Linked DNA regions of Homo sapiens: regions 1, 2 and 4 are each linked to region 3. Evidence: promoter capture Hi-C in 16 types of primary human blood cells and fetal thymus (Javierre and others, 2016). All regions are on one chromosome and are shown on one strand. Each heading gives the region's core, a stretch centred on a gene start or on the middle of the fragment in contact. The rest is flanking DNA. Distances are from core to core; before and after follow the strand shown.

Evidence for each region. Contacts are between HindIII fragments. The CHiCAGO score rates a contact against its expected background, and 5 or more counts as called.
Region 1: a contact is called between a fragment that was not itself captured here and the fragment with the promoter of NUP214 in region 3, in 4 of 17 cell types (M2 macrophages, naive B cells, M0 macrophages and 1 more). The highest score is 9.0, in M2 macrophages.
Region 2: a contact is called between a fragment that was not itself captured here and the fragment with the promoter of NUP214 in region 3, in 1 of 17 cell types (monocytes). The highest score is 5.1, in monocytes.
Region 4: a contact is called between a fragment that was not itself captured here and the fragment with the promoter of NUP214 in region 3, in 9 of 17 cell types (M2 macrophages, M0 macrophages, naive B cells and 6 more). The highest score is 16.7, in M2 macrophages.

What each region holds. Positions count from the first base shown.
Region 1 is chr9:132,267,112-132,271,454 of GRCh38, forward strand. SETX (senataxin) reads right to left here. Exons shown (of 26, transcript NM_015046.7): 25 at 2,504-2,591. Among named protein-coding and RNA genes, the nearest start is that of SETX, 86 kb to the right of the region's middle. RefSeq lists enhancers at 1,572-2,558, 2,241-3,440, 2,559-3,544 and a silencer at 2,645-2,819. The HindIII fragment of the contact is 9,425 bases long and covers 1-4,343 here.
Region 2 is chr9:132,368,420-132,372,467 of GRCh38, forward strand. No RefSeq gene overlaps it. Among named protein-coding and RNA genes, the nearest start is that of SETX, 15 kb to the left of the region's middle. The HindIII fragment of the contact is 2,400 bases long and covers 127-2,526 here.
Region 3 is chr9:131,123,031-131,127,537 of GRCh38, forward strand. NUP214 (nucleoporin 214) reads left to right here and starts at 2,556. Exons shown (of 36, transcript NM_005085.4): 1 at 2,556-2,719; 2 at 4,494-4,507. The coding sequence starts at 2,675. It overlaps AIF1L (allograft inflammatory factor 1 like), which reads left to right. Exons shown (of 6, transcript NM_031426.4): 6 at 1-114. It also overlaps the pseudogene RNU6-881P. RefSeq lists an enhancer at 2,455-2,754. The HindIII fragment of the contact is 3,004 bases long and covers 2,524-4,507 here.
Region 4 is chr9:132,285,296-132,289,423 of GRCh38, forward strand. It overlaps SETX (senataxin), which reads right to left. Exons shown (of 26, transcript NM_015046.7): 16 at 3,255-3,356; 17 at 2,941-3,056; 18 at 1,128-1,199. Among named protein-coding and RNA genes, the nearest start is that of SETX, 68 kb to the right of the region's middle. The HindIII fragment of the contact is 5,115 bases long and covers 1-4,128 here.

The DNA of each region.
Region 1 (4,343 bases), core at 597-3,096, 1.1 Mb after region 3:
CATAAAATAGTGGTGTATATTATAATGAATGGTTTCTTGAATTTGATGAACTATGGTAATAAGCTGACTTCACAGTAGTTTTTCAAGGTTTGGAGAAAGTCATGTGACCAGAATAAAATGCTTGGCCCGGTGGCTGGCATACTGAAGACAGGTCTGTGGAGGGAGCGCCAGGCTCTGGGGGCTCAGTTCTCTTTCTCACTCAGATCTCTAGAGATCCTTAGCCTGTGGCTCAAACACATATGTGAAGCAGATGGCCTTGCAATTTTTGCTAAGTTCACTACACCTAAACTTGGTGTTTAATCCATTCCTAAGATCACAGAAACAGTTCTGAGCAGGCACTATTAGCCTTGGTTTCTCAGAGGAAATCAAACGCTTTAATGATTGATCCCATTCCCATAAGGGGAACTAGGCTAAAAACTTAGAAACAAAAGCAAATGAATCCCCAAAACAACAAAGAAAAAGCCCAAGGACAAAAAAAGTTAGGAAGCCCAGCTGACATGTCGGGAAGTTTCAGATTCTCGTCTGTCTCTTTTTGTAGCACTGCCTTCCTAGAGTGAAGACAATGTCGGTGCCATTAGCTGGAGGTCAGTGGTCTGCACAGTTGTGCAAGTGTGACCCAGGGGCTCCCAAACACTGTCTAAACGGAATGTGAAAAAGGGTTACAGAATAACCTTGCAAACCCTACTTCCCATGTCCTCCTTGGGCTGCCCTGCCTCCTGCACCCCACCCTTCACAATCATGATGCGCCTCATCCATCCAGAGTGCACTGCCAAGACACATCAACACCATGAGGTGCCAACTTAAGGGAGGATGAAAAACAGTAGTGCCCACAAAGCCTCCTTTAATCAAGGCATCACTAAAAGATGTATCTCTAGCAACATTTCATTTACTTGTCAGGTTTAAACATGATCAAAATCTGTGATATTAAATATATTTGTCTTGTTTTGCTCAACTGTACAAATAAGTGTTAACAGGCTATTCAATTGATAAGAGATCACGTTTTAACACTCAGATGCTTATGGTCACAGGAAAAGCAATTTTTAAAAATCCAAACCTACATTTTGAGATAACTATAGATTTACAGGAAGTTGCAAGGAAAGTACTGAGAGGTTGCATGCACCCTTCACATGGGTTCCCCAAATAGTGATAAAAATCAACTTTTTAGGCCGAGGTGGGATGACTTTAGCCCAGGAGTTTGAGACCAGCCTGGACAACATGGTAAGACCCTTTCTCTACTAAAAGTACAAAAATTAGGTACATGCGCCTATAGTCTCAGCTACTCAGGAGGCTGAGGTGGGAGAACGGCTTAAATCCAGGAGGCGGAGGCTGCAGTGAGCTGTGATTGTGCCACTGCACTCCCGCCAGGGGAAAACAACTTTTTAAACTTTCAAGTTATACAGAAATTTTTGTGAGAGAGGTGTAGATCAGTGAGATTAACTTAAAGGCTTTTAATTCTAAAAAGAGATTACCCCAGTGAATCTTAGCCTAAACAAGCAGGAATGGAAGTACAATTTCAAAGAGAGGAAAAAATAAAATAATATTGCTTTCTATTCCACTGGATATATTTAAGAGTGATGTAATAATTTTAATTGCTGTATTTTAAAATGTCAATATTGATAATACATCAGAAGCATAATCTTCAGTAATATTTAAACTTACAAAGATTTTTTCTATCAACTTAAAAATAGGAGGTACATAAAAATAAACGGTACACAGCTTTTAAAACTTCCTTCAGAGCAGGCACACAGACGACAAAGGCTGGAGGTGATAGAGGAGTGAAACAAGAAAGAAGGTGTATCTGAGCGCCACCTGGTGGCAGGAACCAAAACCAGGGGAAACAGCCACCAAGTTGGCTCTTCTTAGATGAAATCAATGACTTCATAAAAAAGAGAAATGAGGAAAACTACAAAGTTATTACCCCTAATAAGACAAACAGCAAATACGTGCTACATCTAGCTGTGATATCAGTGAATTAAGCTGTACCATTTGTCTACTGAAGTTGGAAACTCGTACACCTCTTCCAGAGGGGCGCCTGTCCTGGCAGAAGAATGCCGGAGGCGCTAAGTGCTGGAGAAACAGAGTGAGCAGCACAGCTCCCAGTGCCAGCAGAAAAGCAGAGCAGAGCACGCGCCTGCAAACTCTCTCTGGCATTAAGCTGGGCCAATAACAGCCACATTTACTGAGTGTTTACTAAGTGCCAAGCAATTGCTTTGGCACTTTACATCTGTGGGTTTAATATACCTTCTTAACAATAATCCTATGATGTGGATAATTTGTTTTAAAATGGTCACCTTGAGAGCCCAGTGTAGATACTTGGGTTCTGGGCTGAAAAAAGGCGAATGGTTCACGTGTACACAAAAGCTCCTAGGAAGAAGTTGCTGGAAAACATAACAACCATTATTTTGTAATCCAGAAATCATTTACACTTTGATGGAAAATAAGAACAAAAACTCAATCCAACAACAGTAACAATGGGTAAACTTCTGAGCTCTCTGGTACCTACCATCAGGGTCCTCAAATGTCCGAGGATGAAGAGGCTGTACTTGGCTCGTGTGATGGTGACATTCAATCTCTGCAAACTTGCCAGGAATCTAGGCAATAAAAAAAGAGTTCCTTCTTTGTCTAGAATGACTTAACATGCCCATGTGAGACAAAGGTGGACTCTAGAATGACTCAACGTGCCCGTGTCTGACAGAGGTGGAATCTTGAATGACTCAGTGAGCCCGAGACACAGGTGGACTCTAGAATGACTCAGCGTGCCCGTGTGAGACACAGGTGGATTCTAGAATGACTCAGCATCCTCATGTGAGACACAGGTGGACTCTAGAATGACTCAGCGTGCCCGTGTGAGACACAGGTGGACTCTAGAATGACTCAGCATCCTCATGTGAGACACAGGTGGACTCTAGAATGACTCAGCGTGCCCGTGTGAGACACAGGTGGACTCTAGAATGACTCAGCATCCTCATGTGAGACACAGGTGGACTCTAGAATGACTCAGCGTGCCCGTGTGAGACACAGGTGGACTCTAGAATGACTCAGCATCCTCATGTGAGACACAGGTGGACTCTAGAATGACTCAGCGTGCCCATGTGAGACACAGGTGGACTCTACAATGACTCAGTATGCCCATGTGAGACACAGGTGGACTCTAGAATGACTCAGCGTGCCCATGTGAGACACAGGTAGACTCTAGAATGACTCAGCGTGCCCGTGTGAGACACAGGTGGACTCTAGACTCAGCATGCCCATGTGAGACACAGATGGACTCTAGAATGACTCAGCATGCCAGTGAGACACAGGTGAACTCTAGAATGACTCAGCATGCCCATGTGAGACACAGGTGGACTGCAGGCAGCTTTTCCGGGACTCCTTCACTCCTCTAGAAGTCACAGTGCTTTCTTACTCTCCGTCCCAATACAGGGTACCGGGCACAGAAGAATTCCTATTAAAAACAGGAAACAAACCAAAACCTCGGGGCTTCCTTCAAAGTGATGCATCTATCAATTTCCTATTTTTACCTGGATAAGATAATTGGAAATTTTAACAGTGCAATCTTGAAGCCTTGAAAAATCCTAAAAATGTGGTACCAGCCTAATCACTTTATTCTTACATTTAAATATATCTAGACTGTTAAGATATTGTAGAACTAGTGTAGAAATACATGAACACCAGATAAATATTTCAGTAGATCAGAAAAAGAGCTCAGAAATAGAATTGATGTATGATAAAAGTGAAATTTCAAATTAGCTGGGAAAGAAAGGTCTATTTATAAACTGACCCTGAGATACAACTGGGCTCTGTATATGCAGCCCATCCCAGGGAGGGGCAAAGATTACTTTAATTACTATTTTATTTGAAAACGAACTAATTTATAACCTGTAAATTCTGTCTGCTTCTCATGACAAGAAACAAATAATCATGTAAGAGTCTTGGGCTTGGGATATTTTCTGTCACTCATACAGGTGTCCTTAGCATCTTAAATAAACTGACAGTAGTTAAGGTGAACAAATTTAGCCAAAGCAGGAAAACACAGAAAACAATGACACTTTGACACATACCATGGGGAGTAATATGCCTCTGCAAAGTATAATCTAATTATTTATTTGAATCTTATTAAATAAAAGAACAGATTCACACTATGAAATGGGTTAATATAAAAGACACCAAGGCCGGGCGCAGTGACTCACGCCTGTAATCCCAGCATTTTGGGAGGCCAAAGTGGGTGGAGCACTTGAGCTCAGGAGTTTGAGACCAGCCTGGGCAACCTGGCAAAACACTGTCTCTACAGAAAAATACAAAAATTAGCTGGGCGTGGTAGCACATGCCTGTAGTCCCAGCTA
Region 2 (4,048 bases), core at 77-2,576, 1.2 Mb after region 3:
GCACAGCTGCCTTTGTTACCTTGACGCGTCCCGGATTTCATTGACCTGAGACGGGTCCTGGCACAAGGAATGTAAGGCTGTCTCCATTATCTTGACTTGCTCCAAGTTTGGGAGAAGCCTGTGCAAAGCTTCTCCTGAACGTATGTTTCATTTCTGGCTTTGAGATCTGGGCATCGATTTCTCTGGGTCTAATTATTAGCTCAATGTTAAGGCAGTGCTGTGGAAATGTGTCTGTGTAACTGGGGTGCTATGCAGGCCTGTCTGTGTTACTGTCAGGGAGAATTGGCCTGGCCCAGTACCTTCCCTGGGCAGAGCCTAGAGCAGGACTTTGAGGTCCTCAGCTCCAATTCTCCCTGTTGGGGGCACCCTCCAACTCTCTACCCCTAACCCCTGCACGTGGGGTGGACCAGATGCTCCCAGGAGCTTGGGGAAACTTGTACTGAGGGGCTTCTTCCAGAGCTATGTGTCTGGCTCTGGTTCTAGGAAGGTAGGGTGGTGGGCCAATTCAGCTGACTAGTGAGCTGTTTCTTTTGCAGAATTGCCTGAGATTGGACCACCAGCATGGTGTCTAGAAAATGACTTTGGGGTGTCTCAAGTTGCTTATATAGACAGGAATCCTGGCTCCCCCTCCTCCAAATTGCCAGCCACCCCTTCCCCTTCCCCTTCCCCGCAAGGATAGCCCTGCCTATAATTCTTTGTAGCATTCAACATGATTGTGATTGTCTATTGTCTTCCTGCCTGGCTTCTTTCCTTCCTCTTTTCCTCCTTCCCCTACTATTCCCTTCCTTCCATTCATTCAGTCAACCCAGACACCATTCAAGGTTCTGGGGGATGTGGGAATAAATGCATTTCTGCTTCCTTGGAGCTTATATTCTGAGGCAGGAGCTGGGCAGTAAAAAAGTAATTCAAAAAGCAGGATAGAGATAAATGCTATACACATAACACCAGAATGAGGTAAATTCATGGGGGTCTACTTGGCACCGGGGGGAGGTCAGATAATGTCTTCTCTCTGAGGAAACCTCATTTGAGTGGAAACCTAAATGAGGAGTCAGTCTTGCAAAAATGAACCTTCCACTCTTTTCCATTGAGTAGAAAATTAAATGAGGAGTCAGCCTTGCAAAGTTTTGTTGCATTGTTCTAGCGAAGAAACGGTACCTGCAAAGGCCATGGGGTGTTTCCTGCTATTCATTCATTCATTCAACAGCAGGTTCCTGGAGTGTGGTGGGTGAGAGGAATAAGAGCCTGAGACAGGGCTGAAGAGATCAGCAACAGCACATTGTGCGAAACCCCTGTAGACACGATGACATAGAGTTTGAATATTATCCAAAAGCATGTGGGAAGCCATTTCAAGGTTTCTTTCTTTCTTTCTCTCTCTCTCTTACTTTCTCTCTCTCTCTCTGTCTTCTCTTTCTTTTTTGACAGAGTCTCGCTCTATCACCCAGGCTGGAGTGTAATGGCATGATTTTGGTTCATTGCAACCTCTGCCTCCTGGGTTCAAGCAATTCTCCTGCCTCAGCCTCCCAAGTAGCTGGGATTGCAGGTTCCCACCACCACACCTGGCTAACTTTTGTATTTTTAGTAGAGACAGGGTTTCACCATGTTGGCCAGGCTGGTCTCGAACTCCTGACCTCAGGTGATCCCCCTGCCTCAGCCTCCCAAATTGCTGGGATTACAGGCATGAGCCACCACCCCTGGCCCCATTTCAAGGTTCTCAACAGGGTGGTGCAGTATCAGTTGTGCAGATGTGGGGACTACAGATTGGAGAAGGGCTGGTAGGGGAAGCAAGGAGATCAGTGTAACTCAGAGAATGAAGCCTGAGATCACGGCAGGTGGCAGTGGAGGTGGCTAGACTAGAGTCCAGGTGGGCTTGGAGACAAATGTGGTGGGGTGGGGTTTGCTCTTAGGTTGGATGTGGAGGTCCTGGAGGAAAGGATGGAAACAGGATGACTTCTAGGTTTCTGACTTGAACAAACAGAACGACAATACTGTTAGGTAGTTAGATGGACATTAGCAGCTGGGAGAGGGAGAGAGAAGAAAGCAGGAGGGCTGTCACTAAGACCAGCCCTAGCCCACCTAAGTTCAGCCTGAGACCGTCCTAACTCCACCCTAATGGATGGAATTTATGGTACAATCTGGGGCCAGCACATCCTGGAGAAAGAAAAACTGGGGCACAGATAACGATGGCCTAAAGCCACACGTGCCCAGTCCATGTAGGCCATAACCCAGGGAAAACCCATCCTCATTATAGTCGTTATAATAAAATTTACATGTGGTTTTGCCTCTCTGAGTGGGCTTTTCTTAATGAATTATGGGTAAAAACATGCGCAGTTTAACTTCAGGGATATAACCATAAACTGCCAATCAAATGATATCATCCTGTCACTCAAACACAGCCCAAGCCTCAACTCCTCCAACAAACCCCATAAAAGCACCTTGATTTTTGTAAAGAGGGGCTGATTTTACTTCCCAGAAATGAGCCTGCTCTCCCTCAGAGTGTTTTACTGTGTTGCAATAAATCTTGCTGTAAGCTTGCATTTCAGTGTTAGTTTGCCTTTTTTTTTTTTTTTTGAGATGGAGTCTCGCTCTGTCGCTCGGGCTAGAGTGCAGTGGCGCAATCTGCCTCAGCCTCCCGAGTAGCTGGGACTACAGGCGCCCGCCACCATGCCCGGCTAATTTTTTTGTATTTTTAGTAGAGATGGGGTTTCACCGTGTTTGCCAGGATGGTCTCGATCTCCTGACCTCGTGATCCATCTGCCTTGGCCTCCCAAAGTGCTGGGATTACAGGTGTGAGCCCAGCCTAGTTTGCAATTCTTTGCTCACTATCACAAGAACTGAGATTGCTGGTCCAGAGCTCCAGCTCTGTTGATCTTGGTTAAAGAATCCATTCCAACACAGGATGCCCGGTAACAATACCACTGGCAGAGATGAGGAAGCCCGGGGGACAAGTGACAGATTTTGAGATGGGTGTCAGCAATTAGAAAGTTATTTGTGCTGGGCGCGGTGGCTCACGCCTGTAACCCCAGCACTTTGGGAGGCCGAGGCAGGCGGATCACCTGAGGTCGGGAGTTCGAGACCAGCCTGACCAACATGCAGAAACCCCGTCTCTACTAAAAATACAGAATTAGGCAGGTGTGGTGGCACATGCCTGTAATCCCAGCTACTTGAGAGGCTGAGGCAGGAGAATTGCTTGAACCCGGGAGGAGGAAGTTGCGGTGAGCCAAGATCACATCATTGCGCTCTAGCCCAGGCAACAAGAGCAAAACTCCATCTAAAAAGAAAGAAAGAAAGAAAGAAAGTTATTTGTAATATAATAGATTTCAGGTGTAATACCTGAGTGGAGATAGTGAGTAGGCAGATGAATTTTTTTATCCTGGAGTTCGGGGGAGAATCTGACCTGTAACTATACACTTGGGAGGAGGGATCAGCATATACACATTATTTCAAGGCATGGAGAGAATGTGAAGAAGCCCAAAATTGAGCTCTGAGGAACACTAACTTTTCAATGTTGAGTGCAGCGGGAGGAGTGTAGCAGAAACTAATTGAGTCCATATATATATACATATATACACACATATTTTAAATTAAGATGAGTTACACTAGAGCCTGTTTGTATGGTGTTAATGGTCCAGAACAGAAGGCTGACAATTTAGGAGAAGGATCAACAAAATATCAAAATCTCAGAAAATGCAGGTGGTAGCCAGGCACTCACACCTTGTAATCTCAACACTGGGAGGCAGAGGTGGGAGGATCACTTGAGCCCGGGAGTTCAAGACCAGCCTGGGCAACATACGGAGACCATGTCGCTACACAAAAATAAAAAATAAAAATTAGCTGGTGTGGTAGCACATGCCTGCTGTTGTCCCAGCTACATGGGAGGCTGAGGTGGGAGGATTGCTTGAGGCCGGGAGGTCAAAGTTGCAATCAGTCGTGATGGTGCACTCCAGCCTGGGCAACACAGTGAGACCCTGTCTCTTTAAAAAAAAAAGGAAAAAAAAAGCAGGGGGATGGGCTGCAGGAGCTTAGGTGTAGGGATCGGCGTAAGTGTGGC
Region 3 (4,507 bases), core at 1,306-3,805:
AGGAGGGTTTGTCGGGCAAATTCAGGTGGATGAAGTATGTGTGTGCGTGTGCATGGGAGTGTGCGTGGACTGGGATATCATCTCTACAGCCTGCAAATAAACCAGACAAACTTACCAACGTCTTGATTGGTGTATTTTGGGGCTGGTTCTGGGCTCAGCAAATTGCGAACTAGCTAATATAGTAAGAGATTAAATGAGCATGTCCTGTGCCTTTTGTCTGAGACAGCTGAAATTCACTTATCCTAACCACCTCCCTGCAAGAGACAGGTTCTATTATGTCATCCTTGTTTCACAACTGAAAAGTAGGCTTGAATAAGCAATGTGCTGCAAGCCAAACAGTAAATGGCACAATCCGACCCCCCTGGAGCCAACCCATGAGGTCCAAGTTAAGAACCTCTGTCGGCCGGGCGCGGTGGCTCACGCCTGTAATCCCAGCACTTTGGGAGGCTGAGGTGGGCGGATCACGAGGTCAGGAGATGGAGACCATCCTGGCTAACACGGTGAAACCCCGTCTCTACTAAAAATACAAAAAATTAGCCGGGCGTGGTGGCGGCCGCCTGTAGTCCCAGCTACTTGGGAAGCTGAGGCAGGAGAATGCTGTGAACCCGGGAGGCAGAGCTTGCAGTGAGCCGAGATCGCGCCACTGCACTCCAGCATGAGTGACAGAGTGAGACTCCGTCTCAAAAAAAAAAAAGAACCTCTGTCCTAGAGCATTTATAATTCACTACAGAAATGTATTCTATGAAGGACTTTAATACCATCAGTCAGCCTTATCCAGACGATCTCAATTCTAATCCTGTCACCACCACTTTCTGACTGAGGGCTATTGGAGAATTTTCTCAACTTCTCTGTGCCTCCCTTACCTCATCAATTATTATTATGTATGTGTATGTGTGTGTGTGTATATATATATATATGTGTGTGTGTGTATATATATATGTGTGTGTGTGTGTGTATATATATATATATATATATATTTTTTTTTTTTTTTTTTTTTTTTTCTGAGACAGAGTCTCACTCTGTCACCCAGGCTGGAGTGCAGTGGCACAATCTTAGCTCACTGCAACCTCCACCTTTTGTGTTCATGCGATTCTCCTGCCTCAGCCTCCTGTATAGCTGGGAACACAGGCGTCCGCCACCACACCCGGCTAATTGTTGTATTTTTAGCAGAGACGGGGTTTCACCATGTTGGCCAGGCTGGTCTCGAGCTCCTGACCTCAGGTGTTCCACCCACCTCGGCCTCCCAAAGTACTGTGGTTACAGGCGTGAGCCACTGCTCCCAGCCTATTTTTATTTACTTTTTTTTTTTTTTTTTTTTTGAGACGGAGTCTCGCTCTTTCGCCCAGGCCAGACTGCAGTGGCGCTGTCTCTGCTCACTGCAACCTCCGCCTCCCGGGTTCACGCCATTCTCCTGCCTCAGCCTCCCGAGTAGCTGGGACTACAGGTGCCCGCCACCGCGCCCGGCTAATTTTTTGTATTTTTAGTAGAGTCGGGGTTTCACCGTGTTAGCCAGGATGGTCTCCATCTCCTGACCTCGTGATCCGCCCGCCTCGGCCTCGCAAAGTGCTGGGATTACAGGCGTGAGCCACCGCGCCCGGCCTTTTATTTACTTTTTGAGACAGGGCCTGGCTCTGTCACCCAGGCTGGAGTGCAATGGTGCAATCACAGCTCCCTGTAGCCTCAACCTCCTGGGCTCAGGCAATTCTCCCACCTCAGCCTCCCGAGTAGCTGAGACTACATACGCATGCCATCACTGCTGGCTAATTTTTGTGGTTTTGTTTTGTTTTTTATAGAGACGGGGTCTCGCCATGTTGCCGAGGCTGGTCTCAAACTCCTGGTCTCAAGCAATCCTCCTGTCTCCGCCTCCCAAGTGCTGGGATTATAGGCATGAGCCACCCGCGTCTCATCAATTAAATAAATAACCCCTAGGACGACTAAGATGTCTTCAAGATTACATGAGATCCCACATCTGAAGGTTTTTGCAAAGGACTTGGCACAAACTCGTGCGACTAGACATGGATATGGCTCTTGCTCTGGAAAGGATCACCTTGATAGGAGCAAACAAAGCTGGTCTTCGGTGCCCTTTAATCTCCCCTCCCAGCCTTCCACCTTCCACACTTTAAGAGTCGTCCCTGCCGACCCCCCGACCCCGTTTTTCTGAACCTCCCTTCCTCCCCTTGCATAGTCCAAAGCCTCTCTCTAAAGCAGCCCCCCGAAAACATCTGTCAAGTTCCAAACTTATCTGAATCGGAAGCTACCAATAGCCAACCTACATCTAAGGGGAACTGTAAGATTTCAGAAGAACAAGAAGCATAGGTCGCTTAGGCGTGGGCCACCCAAGAAGAGAGACTTAACACTAGGTAAGCCCGCGCTGGCTGCGAAGGCGGGAGCGGCACCAGGACCATCCAGGGCGCAGGCGCAGGGACCTCACGGCCACGCCACTACTCAGCCCGAGCTGGCCAATGGGGAGCGGCGGCCGGAAGAACGCGCGGCTTCGCTAGGTTCCGCGGCTTCCTCTGACCAAGCTTGACGTCACCAAAGCGCGCCGGAAATGCGAGGTCAACTGCGCGCCGCTGGCGCTGAGGGGAGGAAGTTTGCTGTCGAGCGGCCTGGGTTCCGTGGGCAAGGCCGTGGGAGGCAGCGTTGGCTGCTTCGACACACTGAGGGCGGCGCGATGGGAGACGAGATGGATGCCATGATTCCCGAGCGGGAGATGAAGGTCAGAGACTAACCGGGGCCTCCCTCCCTTCTTTAGTCCTGGCGTTGCCTTGGAGCCCAGCTGAAAGGCGAAGCGCGGTGCTGGCTGTCCCGCCTCCTGCTTGAACAGTTTACCGCGTTCACAGCTCTCACCAGCGCGTCTGCCGCGCCGCTGGCGTGATAGCCCCACCGAATGCAGTTTCCCAGTCCCATCCTGGTCTCGTGCACGGCTGTTGAGTTACCCTAGCTACTTCCTGGGGCGGTCACAATAGTGGCAATAACTGCTGTTTATTGAGTGTTGACTGTGTGCCAGGCACTGTGGTAGTCATCGCGGCAGCCCTACGAAGTAGTCGTTAACGTAGAGGAGTAAGTTGAGGCTCGGAAAGTAATTTCCCTAAAGTCACATTTGACGCGGGGCTGAAAGCCAGCATCATTTAAGACCTTTGCTCTCCCAGTACTTCTGTAAGGTGATACGGGCTTGCCTAACGTAGAGTCAGGGAAGGTCATCCATCCTGCAGAACCTTTAGTTGATTGGACTAGGAAGACTATTTTGACCTCGGTATATCAGCCTAAAGTCAGGAACCTAAAGGGAGGGCCAAGTGGTCCCAGTGATAGCAACGTGGGAGTCCCCCAGGGATAACTTCAGGATGGTGTGTTTAATAGTTCTTATATGGGTTCTGACAGAATGAGGGTACAACAGACGGGCTACATCTGTTTTAAATAGTGAAAAGAAGTAAGTTGCAGGAAGATTTTAGGCATCTGTGTGAACAATAAATCACTAAAATGCATTTAGGGCATAGTAATACCATGTTTAGAATAGTGATTTTTTTTTTTTTTTGAGACAGAGTCTTGCTCTGTCACCCAAGCTGGAGTGCAGTGGCATGATCTCGGCTCCCTGCAACCTCCACCTCCCCGGCTCAAGCGATTCTCCTGCTTCAACCTCCCTAGTAGCTGGTATTACAGGCGCCTGCCACCACGCCCCACTAATTTTTTATATCATTTGGTAGAGACTGGGTTTCACGATGTTGGCCAGGCTGGTCTCGAACTCCTGACCTAACGTGATCCGCCCTCCTCTGGCTCCCAAAGTGCTGGGATTATAGGCGTGAGCTACCGTGCTGTCCTAGAATAGTGATTATTTTTTGAGAATCACCACCTGTGGTGAGCCACCTAATGGGGTTGTGTCATATTCCTCAGATATGCTGGGGTAGAAGAAAAAAAGGTTTTATTAATAGAACCACAGACTTAGAAGATGGTAATCTCGCACTCCCTTTGGCAGCACATATAAAATTGGGATCATGCAGAGAAGACTATTATGGCCCCTTTACATGGATGACAGACAAATTCATGAAGTGTTCCATATCAGAAAAAAATGAGGGCCGAGTGTGGTGGCTCATGCCTGTGAGCTTGCACTTTGGGAGGCTGAGGTGGATGGATCACTTGAGGTCCGGAGTTCGAGACTAGCCTGGCCAACATAATGAAACCCTGTGTCTACTAAAAATACAAAAATTAGATGGCCATGGTGGCGGGTGCCTGTAATCCCAGCTACTTGGGAGTCTGAAGCAGGAGAATCGCTTGAACCTGGGAGGCAGAGGTTGCAGTGAGCCAAGATCGCTGCACTGCACTCCAGCCTGGACGACAGAGCGAGACTCCATCTCAAAAAAGAAAAAAAGACAATTGAGACAGACCTTGGTCTCAGTAATACATATTTTTGTTGTACTGAAATTGGGTCTACTGAATATAACATGTTTTAATTTCTTTCTTTATTGAATTGATCTCGTTTTGATTCTTCACAACAGGATTTTCAGTTTAG
Region 4 (4,128 bases), core at 582-3,081, 1.2 Mb after region 3:
ACAAAAAAGATAACTTATAACCACCTCTTAGAAATCTTAGATGGTGGTAAGAATTCATTCTTAGGTTAAAGAAAAAAATGCAAATGTTGTTACACCATTTTCTCCACTTCCACAGATGTTTGTAATTTTTCATAACAATTTAAAATGTAACTGAGAAAAGCCCATAGCTGGCCAGGCATGGTGGCTCACGCCTGTAATGCCAACACTTTGGGAGGCCGAGACGGGGGATGACTTGAGGTTGGACGTTCCAGACCAGCATGGCCAACATGGTGAAACCCCATCTCTATTAAAAATACAAAAAAAGGGCCAGGCATGGTGGCTCACGCCTGTAATCCCAGCACTTAGGGAGGCCGAGGTGGGCGGATCACAACGTCATGAGATGGAGACCATCCTGGCCAACATGGTGAAACCCCATCTCTACTAAAAATACAAAATTTAGTCGGGCGTGGTGGCGCACACCTGTAGTCCCAGCTACTCGGGAGGCTGAGGCAGGAGAATCACTTGAACCTGGGAGGCAGAGGTTGCAGTGAGCTGAGATTGTGCCACTGCACTCCAGCCTGGCAACAGAGTGAGACTCTGTCTCAAAAAAAAAAAAACACAAAAGAGGCCAGGTGTGGTGCCTCACGCCTGTAATCCCAGCACTTTGAGGGAGGCTGAGGCAGGAGGATCATGACGTCAAGAGATCCAGACCATCCTGGCCAACACGGTGAAACCCCGTCTCTACTAACAATGCAAAAATTAGCTGGGCGTGGTGGCACACGCCTGTAATCCTAGCTACTCGGGAGGCTGAGGCAGGAGAATCGCTTGAACCCGGGAGGCAGAGGTTGCAGTGAGCCAAGATCACGCCACTATACTCCAGTCTGGTGACAGAGCAAGACTTCACCTCAAAAAAAAAAAAAAAAAAAAATTAGCCAGGCATGGTGGTGCACGCCTGTAATCCCAGCCACATGGGAGACTGAGGTTGCAGTGAGCTGAGATCATGCCACTGCACCCCAGCCTGAGAGACAGAGTGAGACTCTGTCTCCAAAATAAATAAATAAAAGCCCATAGCTTGTCTGAACAGTCATACTTAAATTTTAAAAAGAAAAAAAAAAAAATCAAGAAAATGCTACAGGTGAACTACTTACCTCTTTAATTTTAGAAGCAAGTTCCTGCCTTTCCTTAGAAACTTTGGAAATGTTTTCATCTAATTCTTGCCTCTGGAAAAAAATTCAAATGTCACAATTAAAACTAAACTAAGCATTTTTAAATGCCTTCCAATGGACTACCTCTAATTTTAAAAGAGCCTGTATTTCACCAATGAAAAATGTATTTACCCAGCTTATTTCCTCTTTACCACTGGAGTCCTGACACACTCTGTATGCTGCTGCGTAAGACTCAGCTGTGTTCTGTGCGCTGCACGTGAGCTGTCTGCTTAGCATTCCAGCACTGGGAGCATCACGCCACCCTTAACTTCCAGGTGATTCAAATGAGGCTGTAAATCACACCCCAACCATTCCTCTGGCCACAGTGATGGGCATCTAACACAGGCCTGGCCAATCATGCACCCATCTTCTTAAAAATAGGGATTAGACCTGCTTGCTCACCCAGGGACTAAACTAACTGCTTCTTTGGATATATGGATGCTAAGAGAAAGACTTTCTCTCCCTCTGGGGTTTCAAAGCTGAGATGGTGGAAGCCCTGAGATGCTGACACTCACCTTTCTCAGAAGAAATGGCTGACACACAGAAAAACAAATTATGGAGTGGAGAAATGATATCATGTGACCCTCTGGATCCACCCATACTGAAGCTAATTCCCTTTCTGTCTAACCTAATTTGAACTGGGCTCAACATGCAACTGAAAGGCAACTAATAAACTCAGTATAGCTTTAATATAAGGCAGTACAGCCTATAAGCCAAATGCAAGGCCATGTGCAGGGACTCATGCCTGTAATCCTGGCACTTTGGGAGGCTAAGGTGAGAGGACTGCTTGAGGCAAGAAGTTCAGACCACCCTGGGCAACATGGCAAGACCCAGTTTCTACAGAAAACAAACAAAAAAATTAGCCAGGCATGATGGCACACGGCTGTAGTCCCAGCTACTCAAGAGGCTGAGGCAGAAAGACAGCTCACTTGAGTCCAAGAGCTTGAGGCTAAATTGAACCACAACTGCACCACTGCACTCCAGCCTGGGCCACAAAGTGAGACCCTATCTCAAAAACAAACAAAAACGCAACACCCCATCTATTTTCGTAAATAAAGTTCTACTGGAACACAGCCACATCCATTTGTTTATGTATTATCTATGGCTGCCTTTGTGCTACCAAAAGCAGAGTTGAATAGCTGCAACAGAAACCAACCATATGGCTTGCAAAGCCTAAAATCTTTACTAGAATATCTTGCCCTTTACAAAAAAGTTTTTAAAAAGATTTTTAACAAAAGTAATTTTAATAAAAGAAAAAATGAAAAAAAAAATTAAAACCAAAAGGACAAAAAAAAAAAAAGCAGAAAGAAATGTGTTAATCTGAGACACATTTTTAGTGTCTTAGTACACATTTTTATACATGAATCATGCCATTCCCCAATAAATAAAGGGCATTAAATACTCATTAATTAGGCTGGTCGCAATGGCTCATGCCTGTAATCCCAGCACTTTGGGATGCTGAGGTGGGCAGATCAACTTGAGGCCGGGAGTTCGAGACTAGCCTGGCCAACATGGTGAAACCCCATCTCCATTAAAAATACAGAAAATTAGCCAGGTGTGCCGGCACAACCTTGTAATCCCACCTACTCGGGAGGCTGAGGCAGGAGGATCACCTGAACCCAGGAAGGTGAGGCTGCAGTGAGTCAGGATTGTGCTACTGCACTCCAGCCTGGAAGACAGAGCAAGACTCTGTCTCAAAAAAAACTTGTTAACTAGTTCGTATACCTGAGTTATTATTCAAGAAATGCAAAGATACCTGTATTTCCCGTCCACCTCGGCATAGAGCTCGCTGCCGGGAAAGCTCATCCAGCTGATAATCTAGAAATTCCTTTCTTTTATGCATCGCCTGAACATGAGAAGGTAACTCTTTTTCTAATAAAAATAACAAATAAAAAATTATATGCTATTCTAATTCTAACAAACTCACACACATATACAACACAATGAGAAGGAAAATTAGTTCCCAAAGCCAGACTAATTCTGGAGGCTTCAAATTACCTTTAGTGCCCAAGTCATTTTCCACCAAACAAAACAGAGAAAACACTAGTATATACCACATTCAGTACTTACTCATTCTGTGGTTTACTTGGCTGTCCAAACTGAACTTTAGAACCTCACTATTAATAGACTTTTCTGGACCCAGTCGTACTAAATTTATATCTCCACAGTTTCCTGTTGATAAGAATCACAGTTAAGGACTAATAAGGACACTGCTGATCAATCCTGTCTCTATACATAGTATCTATATTTCTAAGTAAATATGTTAATAATCAGAGAAGGGAGCAAACATGAACTTCCAATTAACCAGACACCAGGGACTACACCACAAACTTCTTATACATTATTTCAGATATTGTTCCTAACAATCCTATAAGGCAAGTAGTTATCATTTCTACCTAATAAAGGTTAGCAAGGCCATCTAAACAGTACACTACAGAGTTGAGATTCTATTACAGTAACATTTTCAAACTATGTTCAGTAGGACATTCCATAGCAAAATAGTTTCAAGAAAAATGATGAGATAAAATAAACGAAGCAGTTCTCTCATGTTGGGGAAAGGGCTTGTGGGGTGCCTGCATAAACCAGCCATAAAAATATGGAACAGTAAGTTGTAGAAAGCCACAAGAGGCCTCTGAGGAGTAAAGCCTTCTAATTGCCATCATGTTCCCATGACCAGAATGTGACCTGCTCTCCTATCTATAAACACTGTGCTCAAGGAGAAAGATACTCCTTTGAAGCACTGGAATGTGGCCAGATATGCCAGCTCCTAGTTAGGCCCACTCCCCACAGCTGCTCTCTGATAAGTTAAAAAATAAATCAGTAGTTAAGTTTATACTGCTTCAGCACAAAGAAAATTTACCTAAACCGCCATTCCTATACATTAGGTGTATGACACACGGCTCTCCTTTCACCATTTCACTATTTATTTCAATAAATAGTGTGG